Linked DNA regions of Homo sapiens: region 1 is linked to region 2. Evidence: promoter capture Hi-C in 16 types of primary human blood cells and fetal thymus (Javierre and others, 2016). All regions are on one chromosome and are shown on one strand. Each heading gives the region's core, a stretch centred on a gene start or on the middle of the fragment in contact. The rest is flanking DNA. Distances are from core to core; before and after follow the strand shown.

Evidence for each region. The method cuts DNA at HindIII sites, captures the fragments that hold promoters and counts their contacts. A CHiCAGO score of 5 or more calls a contact.
Region 1: a contact is called between a fragment that was not itself captured here and the fragment with the promoter of PTTG1IP2 in region 2, in 1 of 17 cell types (total B cells). The highest score is 5.4, in total B cells.

What each region holds. Positions count from the first base shown.
Region 1 is chr7:91,640,389-91,645,666 of GRCh38, reverse strand. No RefSeq gene overlaps it. Among named protein-coding and RNA genes, the nearest start is that of MTERF1, 240 kb to the left of the region's middle. The HindIII fragment of the contact is 877 bases long and covers 3,251-4,127 here.
Region 2 is chr7:90,467,526-90,472,924 of GRCh38, reverse strand. PTTG1IP2 (PTTG1IP family member 2) reads right to left here and starts at 3,286. Exons shown (of 7, transcript NM_001365443.2): 1 at 2,994-3,286. The coding sequence starts at 3,138. The HindIII fragment of the contact is 9,262 bases long and covers 2,712-5,399 here.

The DNA.
Region 1 (5,278 bases), core at 2,440-4,939, 1.2 Mb before region 2:
CACAAGAACAGAAAACCAAACACTGCATGTTTTCACTCATAAGTGGGAGTTGAACAAGGAGAATACATGGACCCAGGGAGGAGAACATCACACACTGGGGCCTGCTGGGGGGTAGGGGGCTAGTGGAGGGATAGCATTAGAAGAAATACCTAATGTAGATGACGGGTTGATGGGTGCAGCAAACCACCGTGGCACATGTATACGTATGTAACATTCTGCATATTCTGCACATGTATCCCAGAACTTAAAGTATAATAAAAAAATCACTTTCTGATTAACTTATGAAAATCAAACTTTTCATGCTTGTAAAAAAAAAAGAAATATGCACTCCAAATTTCAAAAAGTACAGTTGGAAAATATCAGAATGAGAATGGACAAGGTTGGAGAAGAAGGCAAAGGCAGAGTCTGGAGGCCTTTGAAGGTCAGACTAAGGGCTGGATACCATCAGCACATCCATTCTGTGCTTCAAATGAGCCTAATATGGTATTGCTACATGGCTATCATTGGGAACCAGGAGCCATTGAGTTTACTAGATTTGACTGGGGAAAGGACAGAATCTGGGTTGAGGCATGGGCAGAGCAATAGATGCTGTCCCTCTTGACCAGCTGGCCCCTGACTGCACGACTCAATGGTCAGGGCAGCCTGTGAGAAGGCAGATCCAGTTCATCGAGTCCACACCGGTGGTAGAAAGAAGGCAGTTACGGGGTGGGGAGGCCGGTGTGGAACTTCCCGTGGGCTAACACTTGTCCCAGATAAGCTCGGAAGTCAGGCATATCTTTACACCTTTAGGCTTTACCCTCATTTCTTTCCTCTATGTTCACTGTGAATTTTGCTTCTTTTCTGTCCTTCCTTCTCTCATCTTTTCTCCATTTTTCTTGCTGTTTTGTTTGCAGTATATCATATTTCCCTGTGCTCTTTCCTCTTCAGCTGCCCTCTGCTTGAACATGAAAGCTGTTTCCCTTCCCTGTCGCCTCTTCCCTTTGGCCAGCTCTATCCTGGGTACTTTTCTCTCTTTCTTCTCTTCTGGCCCCTGGAGTTTGGAAGTATTCTTCACTATTAGGTGGATGTACCCATGCAGTTCTACGGACTCATTCTGAGCTACTTTCCTTTCTCCCCTAATCTTACTCAAAAATTCCTGTCGATGGCCTCAGTCTCATTCTTGACTTTAGTGGCCGCTATTAGCTTTCAGGCCTGGTTAATATCTCTGTCATACAAATTGTAATATGTTCTTAGGGTGCGTCACTGGTTTCTATAGCTTTCACCAGTTCAAGTGCTCTTGCTGTTCTACATGTACAGTAAATGCAACCAAAGACAACACCAGCTAGATAAACTCTGAAGCAGTGGTACTCTACTGGGTTATTTTGTCCCCCAGGGGACATTTGGCAAAGGCTGGACACACTTTTGGTTGTTACAACTGTGGGGAGTGGGGAGGGATGCTGACACCTAACAGGTAGAGGTCAAGGATTTCGTGAAAAGTCCTATAATGCACAGGACAGTCCCCACCCTGAAAGAATTGTCCAGCTCAAGATGTCAATATTTCTGAGGTTGAGAAGCCCTGATCCAAACGTATTTGTCTTGGAGCTTTCAACTAGGGTGAATATGTAAATAATGAAGGCTAATTAAAAACAAATTAAATTGCAATCACTTAGGAAAAACAATGGGAGAATCTTGAGATGGCACATAGTAAAATGTGCCTGCTTTAATAACAACAAAAATAATTATTTGTGCTTTATTGAGTACTCATTTTCACTTATAAAAATTATACTCATTAGATCTCCCACCCTTCCCAACAACCTGTGAGTTTGGTATTGGAGATACCTTGCATATAAAGAAACTGAGGCATAGAGAATAAGATTACTCTCATAAGGACCCCAGACAAACATCGATTTTAACCAACGGAAAAAAAAAAAAACCCACAGGGCTGTTCTCACAGCTTAACTGGAGCTACAATGGCAGAAAATAAGGGCAGGAACCAAAGCTGCTGTCACAAAGAAAGGACTCTCCCATTTCTCTATTTGGTATTTAAAAATAGGAGAGAAAACGGCATAGCTTGAATCTGAGATAATGCTTGCCGCTTTGTGAATGCTCTTACAGTGCATCGCCTTCGAAACAAATTGGCCCTCGTCTACAAAGGTTTCTTTTTTGTACTCTCGCAAACTCATTTTTAATGGCTTGTGCGGCATCAGTTGTGCCCCTGAGCTGTAATGAAGGGCTCTGCAAGTCACCACAAGCGAGTCAGAAATGAATCTCACGGAGAGGAAAATGCTGGAACGTTAATAGGTTTTAATCCAAGGTAAGCAAACTTATTGAGCCACCACCATATGCTTTATAAAAATCTAAATGTCATGAAATTTTCAGCAGTCTTCCCTTGCCTGCAAATCAGTTTTGGTCCACAGACAGCCAAGTAGGGATCAGAAGGGAAAAATCTCAAATGCACGTAACTGCCCAGGAGCACACCTTGAGGAGTTTACAAGCACCATCCAGGCAAAACAAAGAAATAATTGATGGAGCATAGGAAAAACTGGCGGCTGTGTCAGGCAGGCATCGGAACAGCCTGTGAGTGTGGCAGACATCTTGCAATATATTTGATCCTATCTTCAATATCTTGGGTGGAGAAGGGGTGTTGAAATCTGACGGTCTCTGTTACATGGGGTTTCCCCTTAGGTTTTTATTTCAATGGAAAAGCAGTGTTTGTATATTCTAATTTATTACATGGATCCTAGCCAATTTACGGAGTGAGATTTAATTGCTAAACACCCAATTTTAAAGTTCATTTTCTGCAGTACCTTGGCAGCTTTTGATAGATGTTTGTTCAGAAAATAACAATCTCTGAATATTAAAGTAAAATAAATTGGTTTTTAAAGTGGTGAGCCTTTCTGCTTATGTGGGAATTTGGAGGTGTACTTTGAATTTTCCTCCTCTGCCAGGTGGGTGACAATGAAATACAGAGATAGACTCAGGGCCACACCTTCAGGGTCTTGGGGCCAACAGTCCCCCTTTCAAGGGTCCTTGGGGCCAGCAGATCCTCTTTCAAGTGTCTTGTTAAATGTGTTAATTGCTATAGTAACTATAGGGATGTTCCTGATACTTGAGATAGGATCTCTTCTCTCTTATGGAATGCAAAATGTGTCCCCAATTATAATGCAACAGTTTCAATTAAGCAAAGTTATAGAAATGTTGAAGCCCTGCAAATGAAAGTTTAAGATTTAGCTGTCTTTCCAAGTTTGCATTAAGACATCTTTGCAAAGCTTACTACTTTATGCAAGCCATGATTCCAAGGATCTTATGGCTTTGATACTCATAATACCTTATGAAGTAGGTGCTGTTATCACATCTGTTTTAAAGGAGGAAACAGGCACAGGGAGTTTAAGTAGTTGGTCCAGGGTCACACAGCTCGTAGAGGACATGAGTACAATCTGAATCCAGGCAGTCTATCTCTGGAGCCTCTGTGTGTTCCTAACCACTCTGCCATACAACTTCTCAGAGCAAGTAGCATAAATATATCCACTTAATACTGTATTGCAGAAACTGTAGACCTCTCCTGTTGAATTTTCTTATTCTCTCAGCCTATGAATAACTTGCAACTATTCACAGCCCAATGGGTAAGTGCACTCTATGATTCCCTGTAGATACCTCCTGTCCAGATTGAGCCTCCTCTATATAATGAGAATGTTGGTCCTGCTAGTATTTTATAAAAATGGAAGCTACAGATGAGTCTTAGGTCATTGCCAGAAGTTCTACTATCCTGGGACATGGTGGGAGAGTCAGGATAAAGAATAAAACAACATTGAATGTGTCTTTCCTAAAACCTACCAGATTATAAATTTGGGACAGTCACCAGTAGTCTCAGTGACAGATCTCCATCTTGTGGCTTTGGAAAGCAGAAGAAATGGGAGGAGAAAGATGATTCAGAAGGCTTAGGGTAATGCTTCTCACACTTCAGTGTGCTTTTGAATCTCCCAGATATCTTATTAAAATGCAGATTCTTTTTTGTAGGTCTGGGTTGGGGCCAGAAATTCTAAATTTCTAACAAACTTCTAGGGATTGCTGATGCTACTGGCTCATAGACCATATTTGGCGGACAAGGATCTAGAATAGACCAGCATCATCACCATCACCTGGAAGCTTATTAGAAATGCAGATTCCTGGGTTCTACTCCAGGCCTACTGAATCAGAATCTACACTTCCAAGTGGTTTATATGCACTTTAATTGTTTGAGAAACACGAGTCTAGAGTAGTCTTCAAACCATGAAGATGCACATAACCAATTAGGCACACTTGTAGATGAATTGGCTATGGTGGGAGAGAAGACGGAGAGAGTATAAAGTTCCCAATAAAAGCTTCATTGAAGACTTTCAAATGTCCCTTTTCTTTGTGATCACTTGAATAGCTGAAAAAGTCCCTGAAATACCTCATTCAAAGCTCATTTGCAAAAGTCTGGAGAATCTTTTCATTTTAGAGGTGTTATTCAACTCAAATTGTTTCTCCTTTAGGAGTCTATAACTCAACCACTTGAATATTTTAAAATTTAGAAGAAGGACAGGTCTTTCCCACCAACATCTGTCTCTGAGTGGCATAGTCCTAAGTTTGAGTTGCCAGCAGAATGGACTGTGGCACTGTCAGCCCAGACTAGGGATGATCATAGATACCTTACCCCACCTAGAGAAGCCATTGAGACTTGCACCCAACCCTGACCCTTCCTGCATCAGTGCCCAGGCCCCTTTGGGGGTGAGTGGAATGTGGTGGAAGTGGCTGTGGGGCAAGTTTGCGGAGAGTAAAGTCAGATTGTCTGGGGCACCAGGAGACAGGGAACAGTGGGGACTGAGAACCATCCTTGTGGGGTGGAGAGGTAGTAGGAAGCAGGCCTACACCAAGGCTTCAAGCCCACCAACCATGCTCCATTGTCCTGTTGAATTTCACTTACAAAACACAAATTCAAAGATGAAATCAGAGTATTAAACCCCCAGGGCAGGGCTCTTCTGAGCGCAGGGCACTGTGTAACTGCAGTGGTCACGCTCATGAAGCGGGCCCTGACTCTGGACATTGCTTGCTATCTTTGTGTTTTGAGAATTTATTTACTCTTGCTTTTGCTTGGTCTATATGAAAAACTAAATAATGTTTATGCTAATCTGATAGTCTAATGCAGCGATCCTCCAACCCTGGGCCTGGACTAGCAGCATAAGCATCCCTGGAAAACTTATTAGAAATGCAGATTTGGGGGCTCTACCTCAAAGTATGGAAACAGAATCTCTAGGGGATGGGGTCTAATAACCTGTGG
Region 2 (5,399 bases), core at 2,037-4,536:
CTCCTGGTTCCCCATCAGCATTTAAACCTTAGTGTCAATGCTGTAATCCTCCTAATACCTGCCTGCTGGTCAAAATCTTAAAGCACTTTTTGTCTTAAAGATGGCTATATGAAGTTAGGATCCAACCAGGAAAATAGAAATCACTCTGTGTATATATAACACTGGGAACTTAGTACCGAGATTGGGTATGCAGGTGATGAAAGAGGCTGAGAAGTTTACCAGGGGAAAGAAAGCGAAGTCCAACCTCCTCCCAGATAACAGTACCCCCTAGGCTAGAGGACAGAGGAATGAGGCAGCTACCAGAGCCCACCACAATAAGTAAGCTTAGAGTATGTGACAAATATTCTTGGTGTGTTCACCATTAGCAGAAATAAACAAATGAAGAGAGAAAACTCGGAAGCCTTGCCTTATATTCAAATTATTTGGCCTTCAATTTATTTCCTTGGAGCTATCTGCCTTTTAATTTCATTCTGATATCTTGCTATCGACTTCGAGGCTTGTTTCACTGAATATTTCTCGTTTGATTGTTCTCTAGCTCAAAGCACTTGTGGGAAATTTTCATGTTTCTTGAGTTGTGTTCTCTTCTAGGGTAGATTATTTGGGGTGTGTGTGTGTGTGTGTGTGTGTGTGTGTGTGTGTGTGTGTTTGCATGCTATCGTATACTCCTTTATTTCTTTATTTTGCTGTGCAGGGTTTACATAGTTGCTCTATTGTTTTCATTCTACTAATGCTTGCACAGCTCTGTTCAGACCTTCCATTTGTTCTGATATAGTGTAGGTGAGATCCTAACCACCTTACCATGATCCTTGAGATTTTTTTCAAGAAGCTACAGTTTTATGGCATTTTATGTTCTATTCACTCCATTGTTTTCAGCATTAGACAAGGGGGAGAACTCAAATGAGGCTGTGCCAGGCTTTGTTAGAATATCTGACTCTGCTCTCTCTTTTGAGGTTTGTCATTTTCCAGTGCCAAGGTTTGCTAGAGCTTATCAGAGGTGTTTCCCATTTCCATGAAGGGGTATCTTTGGACTCTAGATCCACCCTCAAATCCAGCTTGTAACGCAGGAACCTGAGTTTCCTTCAGAGAGTCAGGCCCTCTCTCTTCAGGTCCTCATTCCACCTATTTCTCTGCAGTAGCCATTTCCTCTTCTCATCTTCGGAATAAGAAAAAGAATGGATACCCCCTCAACTTGTTTCTCTCCAGATTTGGGAGAATTAATAAAAATTATTGGATTATAGTAACTCACTAGTTACCTCTAAGGGAGAGTGGCAACATTTGGAGTCTTGCCATGCTGTGCTATTCTGTTCTGATCTAGAATCTTCCAGTTCTTTCCTTAGTTGCCACTTATTTTTTGCACTATGCCCCTTTGTTGTCTGGTTACTTTTAGTGAAGAAAATTCTCTAGGTTTCAGTATATTTTTTAATCCAGTCATTAGATTCTAGAAGATTAACCCAAAGTTGCATCAAGTGCTTTCTATAATTTCTTGAGATATTGATTACTAAGCTCTCAAATGTAAATGAACATCAGAGATAGAAGTCCTGGGGATCAAAACAACCTGCTTAGGGGGAGGTCTCACTTGATGTGCAATCCTTCACAAAGTCCTGTCTGTTGCCTGTCACTTAGGGCACAATCTGGGACATAGATGAGGATCTCGTGAAGGCTTAGAAGCCCCTTTTCAGTTTTGGAAGTGAAAAGTATCATGATGTCTAAGAAACCATATCCTTGTTAGATGGGAAGATTAAATGCAAGCACTAAGGGGAACTGGCCTGAGACTAAGATGCAAGCATTCAGGAGAGGCCCTTGGCAGGCAAGGTGTTTCCTTAGAAACATGGGCTCCAGTTGGCCAGCCCTAGAAGTGAGCTAGCTAGCAACAGAAACTTCCATCTTTGGAGATTATCTTAGATGTGATTTTTGATTTATTTTATTTGTTTTCTTTCTTTTTTCTTTTTTTTTTTTTTTTTGTTCTTCATCAGCATTTTGATAAAGTCTTAAGACGTGAAAAATTTCCGGTATGAGTCCAGTTTGCTAGGGAACAAAAGGAAGAATTTGTTTTTATGTTTGGGCCTATGCTTTCAGGTGCTGTTTGTTGGGAGAAGGGGCCAGGATGGCACTGGAACACTATTTCTCTTAGAGTATGTATAGAGGTGACCAAGAGGTTAAAAAAGAGAAATCTGTGGGAAAGATGAAACCAAAGAAAACAAGCTAGCTCTTTTAATTCAGCGTCGCCCCAACCCTACCCCCTCGAAGGAGATTCTTATTTCAGTGCAACGCTGAGAACTGTGGATTTGGTTTTAGTAAGGAAGACTGATTTGCTTACAGATACTAACATTCTTTTCTACTCTGGAAACCAGACAGCAGTAATTATTCTGTCTCATTGTCTTTGTAAAAATGGCAATCTTGGCTTTACAGGGCACTTTCCAAGTAATTCAAATTCTGTCTCTTATTTTGTCTATACGGTTCCAATTTAGGATACTTAAAACCTTATTTCCAGGTTCATGAATTTAACTCAGCATGACTTTTAACATTTCAAAATTTTTTCAATTTGGAAGGAAATCGAGAGAGGCCTCCAAACTGAAGTAATTTTTTTATGAAAAAGAACAAATAAAGCATTTTATTAACTAAGACCTTAAAAAACTTAAGAAAGAGGAACTATGACCATTGAGTGGGTCTGATTAGAACAAAACCCAATGGCTTATTCACAACAAAAAGCTTATATGTCATAGGTCATGCAGAAAGTGATGGGGGAGAAACCATGCTTTTCCTCAAATTTAAAACTTTGAATCTACCTTTCATATTTCAGATAAACCAAATTAATCTGAGTCCAATTTAACTGAGTTTCACCAAAACCATCTAGAACCTTTAAAATGTCTTCCCACCAACACCAAATGACAACTTTTGAGATGAAAATTCCAGTGCACCAGGATGGCACCATTAAAAGGAAAAAAAACGCTGGAGCATGTGGGGCACCCACCTCAGGACTCCAGATCACTCACCCTCTTCATTCCCATCTCTTGGTTTCTGATTGTTCCTGGGGCTGTGGATAAAACCATTCTCTGAGAAGCTGATAAGCAATTGGATGAGAAAGAGGGAGAGGAAAACTGGCAGGAGGATCTGGCCCCATGCCCGCAGCCAGCACATCTCTCTTCAGACCTGGTGACCCCAGCCACTGGGAACCTGGCAGGCACCAGCTACAGTGTTGGACACTGAGACCCGCCCAGAGACTGTGACCTACCACAGCCCTGGGTGCTGAAGCTGCCACTTGCAAGCCCTGGATGCCAGCATAATCAGCAGAACCTTAGAATCCCTAATGTTCTAGCCAGAATGTAGAATGTTCATAGTGCAATCCTCGTCGGCACTGGGTCCAGCTTCCTGGGCCCTGAATACCATGTACAGTTGGTCCACTGGACTTGACTGAGGTCTATTTCTCCCAAATCAACACTTTTCCCTACTACATTGTTGTTTTTTGGAGAAAGACCTGGATTCTAATTCTCACTACTTGAATATGTGTACAGAAGTTGCACTCTTCCATGCTGCCTTTTCTCTGATGTAAATGAACCTACCACCCACTGCACTCCATGGGAGTGGTTGTGCGATCAATGAGTGGTAAGGCCGTGAAACTCACAGCTCTGTAAACCCTTGGTCTTGTCCTTGACTAGCCTGGTGATCCTATTGACGTGCTCTAATGCAGTTTCCTAAAGGTAGGTATGTTTTGGGTAGTACATAAATGTCTTTTATTTTCATAGTTATGAATTTATTTTAATGCGTATTGGAAAAATATAACCAGTAGTTACAATGATGTAATAGCAACGATATATGCTTTTAAAATAAATCTGTGCAAAAAGGACAATTTTCAGAAATATAAATAGTACACAACTTAAAGGATATGGCAAAAATTGGGGAGGTGGTTCCAGAATGACTGAAATTTGAGCAATCTTGCCCCAGTATGTGTGGTTGGGGAGGGGTAGAGGTGGGTGATGAAAACTTGTCCTTGACCAGGAATTATCTTGTTTTGTTTTTCAAAAACGATCAGGTGGGAAGATCGCTTGAGCCAAGAAGTTCGAGGCTGCAGTGAGCTATGATCGCATCAGTGCACTCCAGTCTGGGCAACAAAGCAAGACCTTTTCTCTAAAAAAATTATTTAAAAAAATTTAAAAAACAAATGTTGCAGTTTTCCCATAGTATTCCTGGCATATTGATCTAGACTGCATCCTGAGGACTATGGGTCTAGTATGGACAATAAAGATGGAGGAGGAGAAGATGTGCAGAGTTCCAGGCTAATTTTTCTTCACCCATTTGCAATGCAGAGGACAGACAGAGGGTTATTAGCTATAATATAAAAAGTGCTTTTATAAATTGACAAAAAAAAGGACAAAAGATAAACAATAGGAAAACGGACAAGAGATGTGGAGAATCCATGGACAGAAAAGCAAATCCAAGTAGCCAATGAATATATGAAAAAAATAGTTTAGAAACACTAGTACTAGGAACTAGGAAATTATAAATTAAAACTAATAATGTAAACATCAGGTAGGCAAGCATTTAAAAAGAAAACTAAGATATCATTGGTGAAGTTGTGGGGGAAAAGGTACTATTATACTTTTTGGAGGAACTGTAAATTGTTACAGTGTCTTTAGAAAGCAAACTTGTTGCTTTCTAAAGCAGCCATTAAAATGAAAAATACATATATTCTATGTTCATATTGTTTCTTGGAGACCTGCCCCTCATTGCCTCTCAGTTCTCATGGTATGGGTGGAGTTCCAACTCCTACTTTGGAAGTAGGACATGAAAACTACACCTGAGCAAAGCAGGTCATAAAACTTCCCTGGCCACCATGCCTGGCTCAGGAGTGGGGCACATGACCTAGGTTGGTCTAATCCAAGTCAATCTCAGAGCTTTTGCTAGGAATGCTAGGATAAAGATGCTTGTCTTCCTCTGGATTCAAATTTGGAAGGACTTAGTCTCTGTAGCTGCTAAAAGCCATCATAAGTCTATGTGGGAGATGGGCACGTTGGCTCATGCCTATAATCCTAGTACTTTGGGAAGCTGAGGCAGGCAGATTGCTTGACTCCAGGAGTTCAAGACCAGCCTGGGCAACATTGTGAAACCCTGTCTCTACAAAAAACAAAACAAAACAAAACAAAACACAAAAAATTAACCAGCATGGTAGTGTGCACCAGCTACTCAGGAGGCTGAGGTGCAAGGATCACTTGAGCCCAGGAGGCAGAAGTTGCAGTGAACGGAGATTGCACCACTACACCCCAGCCTGGGTGACAGAACAAGACCCTGTCTCAAAATAATAATAATAAAAGAAAAAAAGACTATGTTGAATATGGCCATTAAAATGCCCATATCAAATTAAAATTGACTGATGGACTCAGCTGCTGTCCCTCAGATGTATC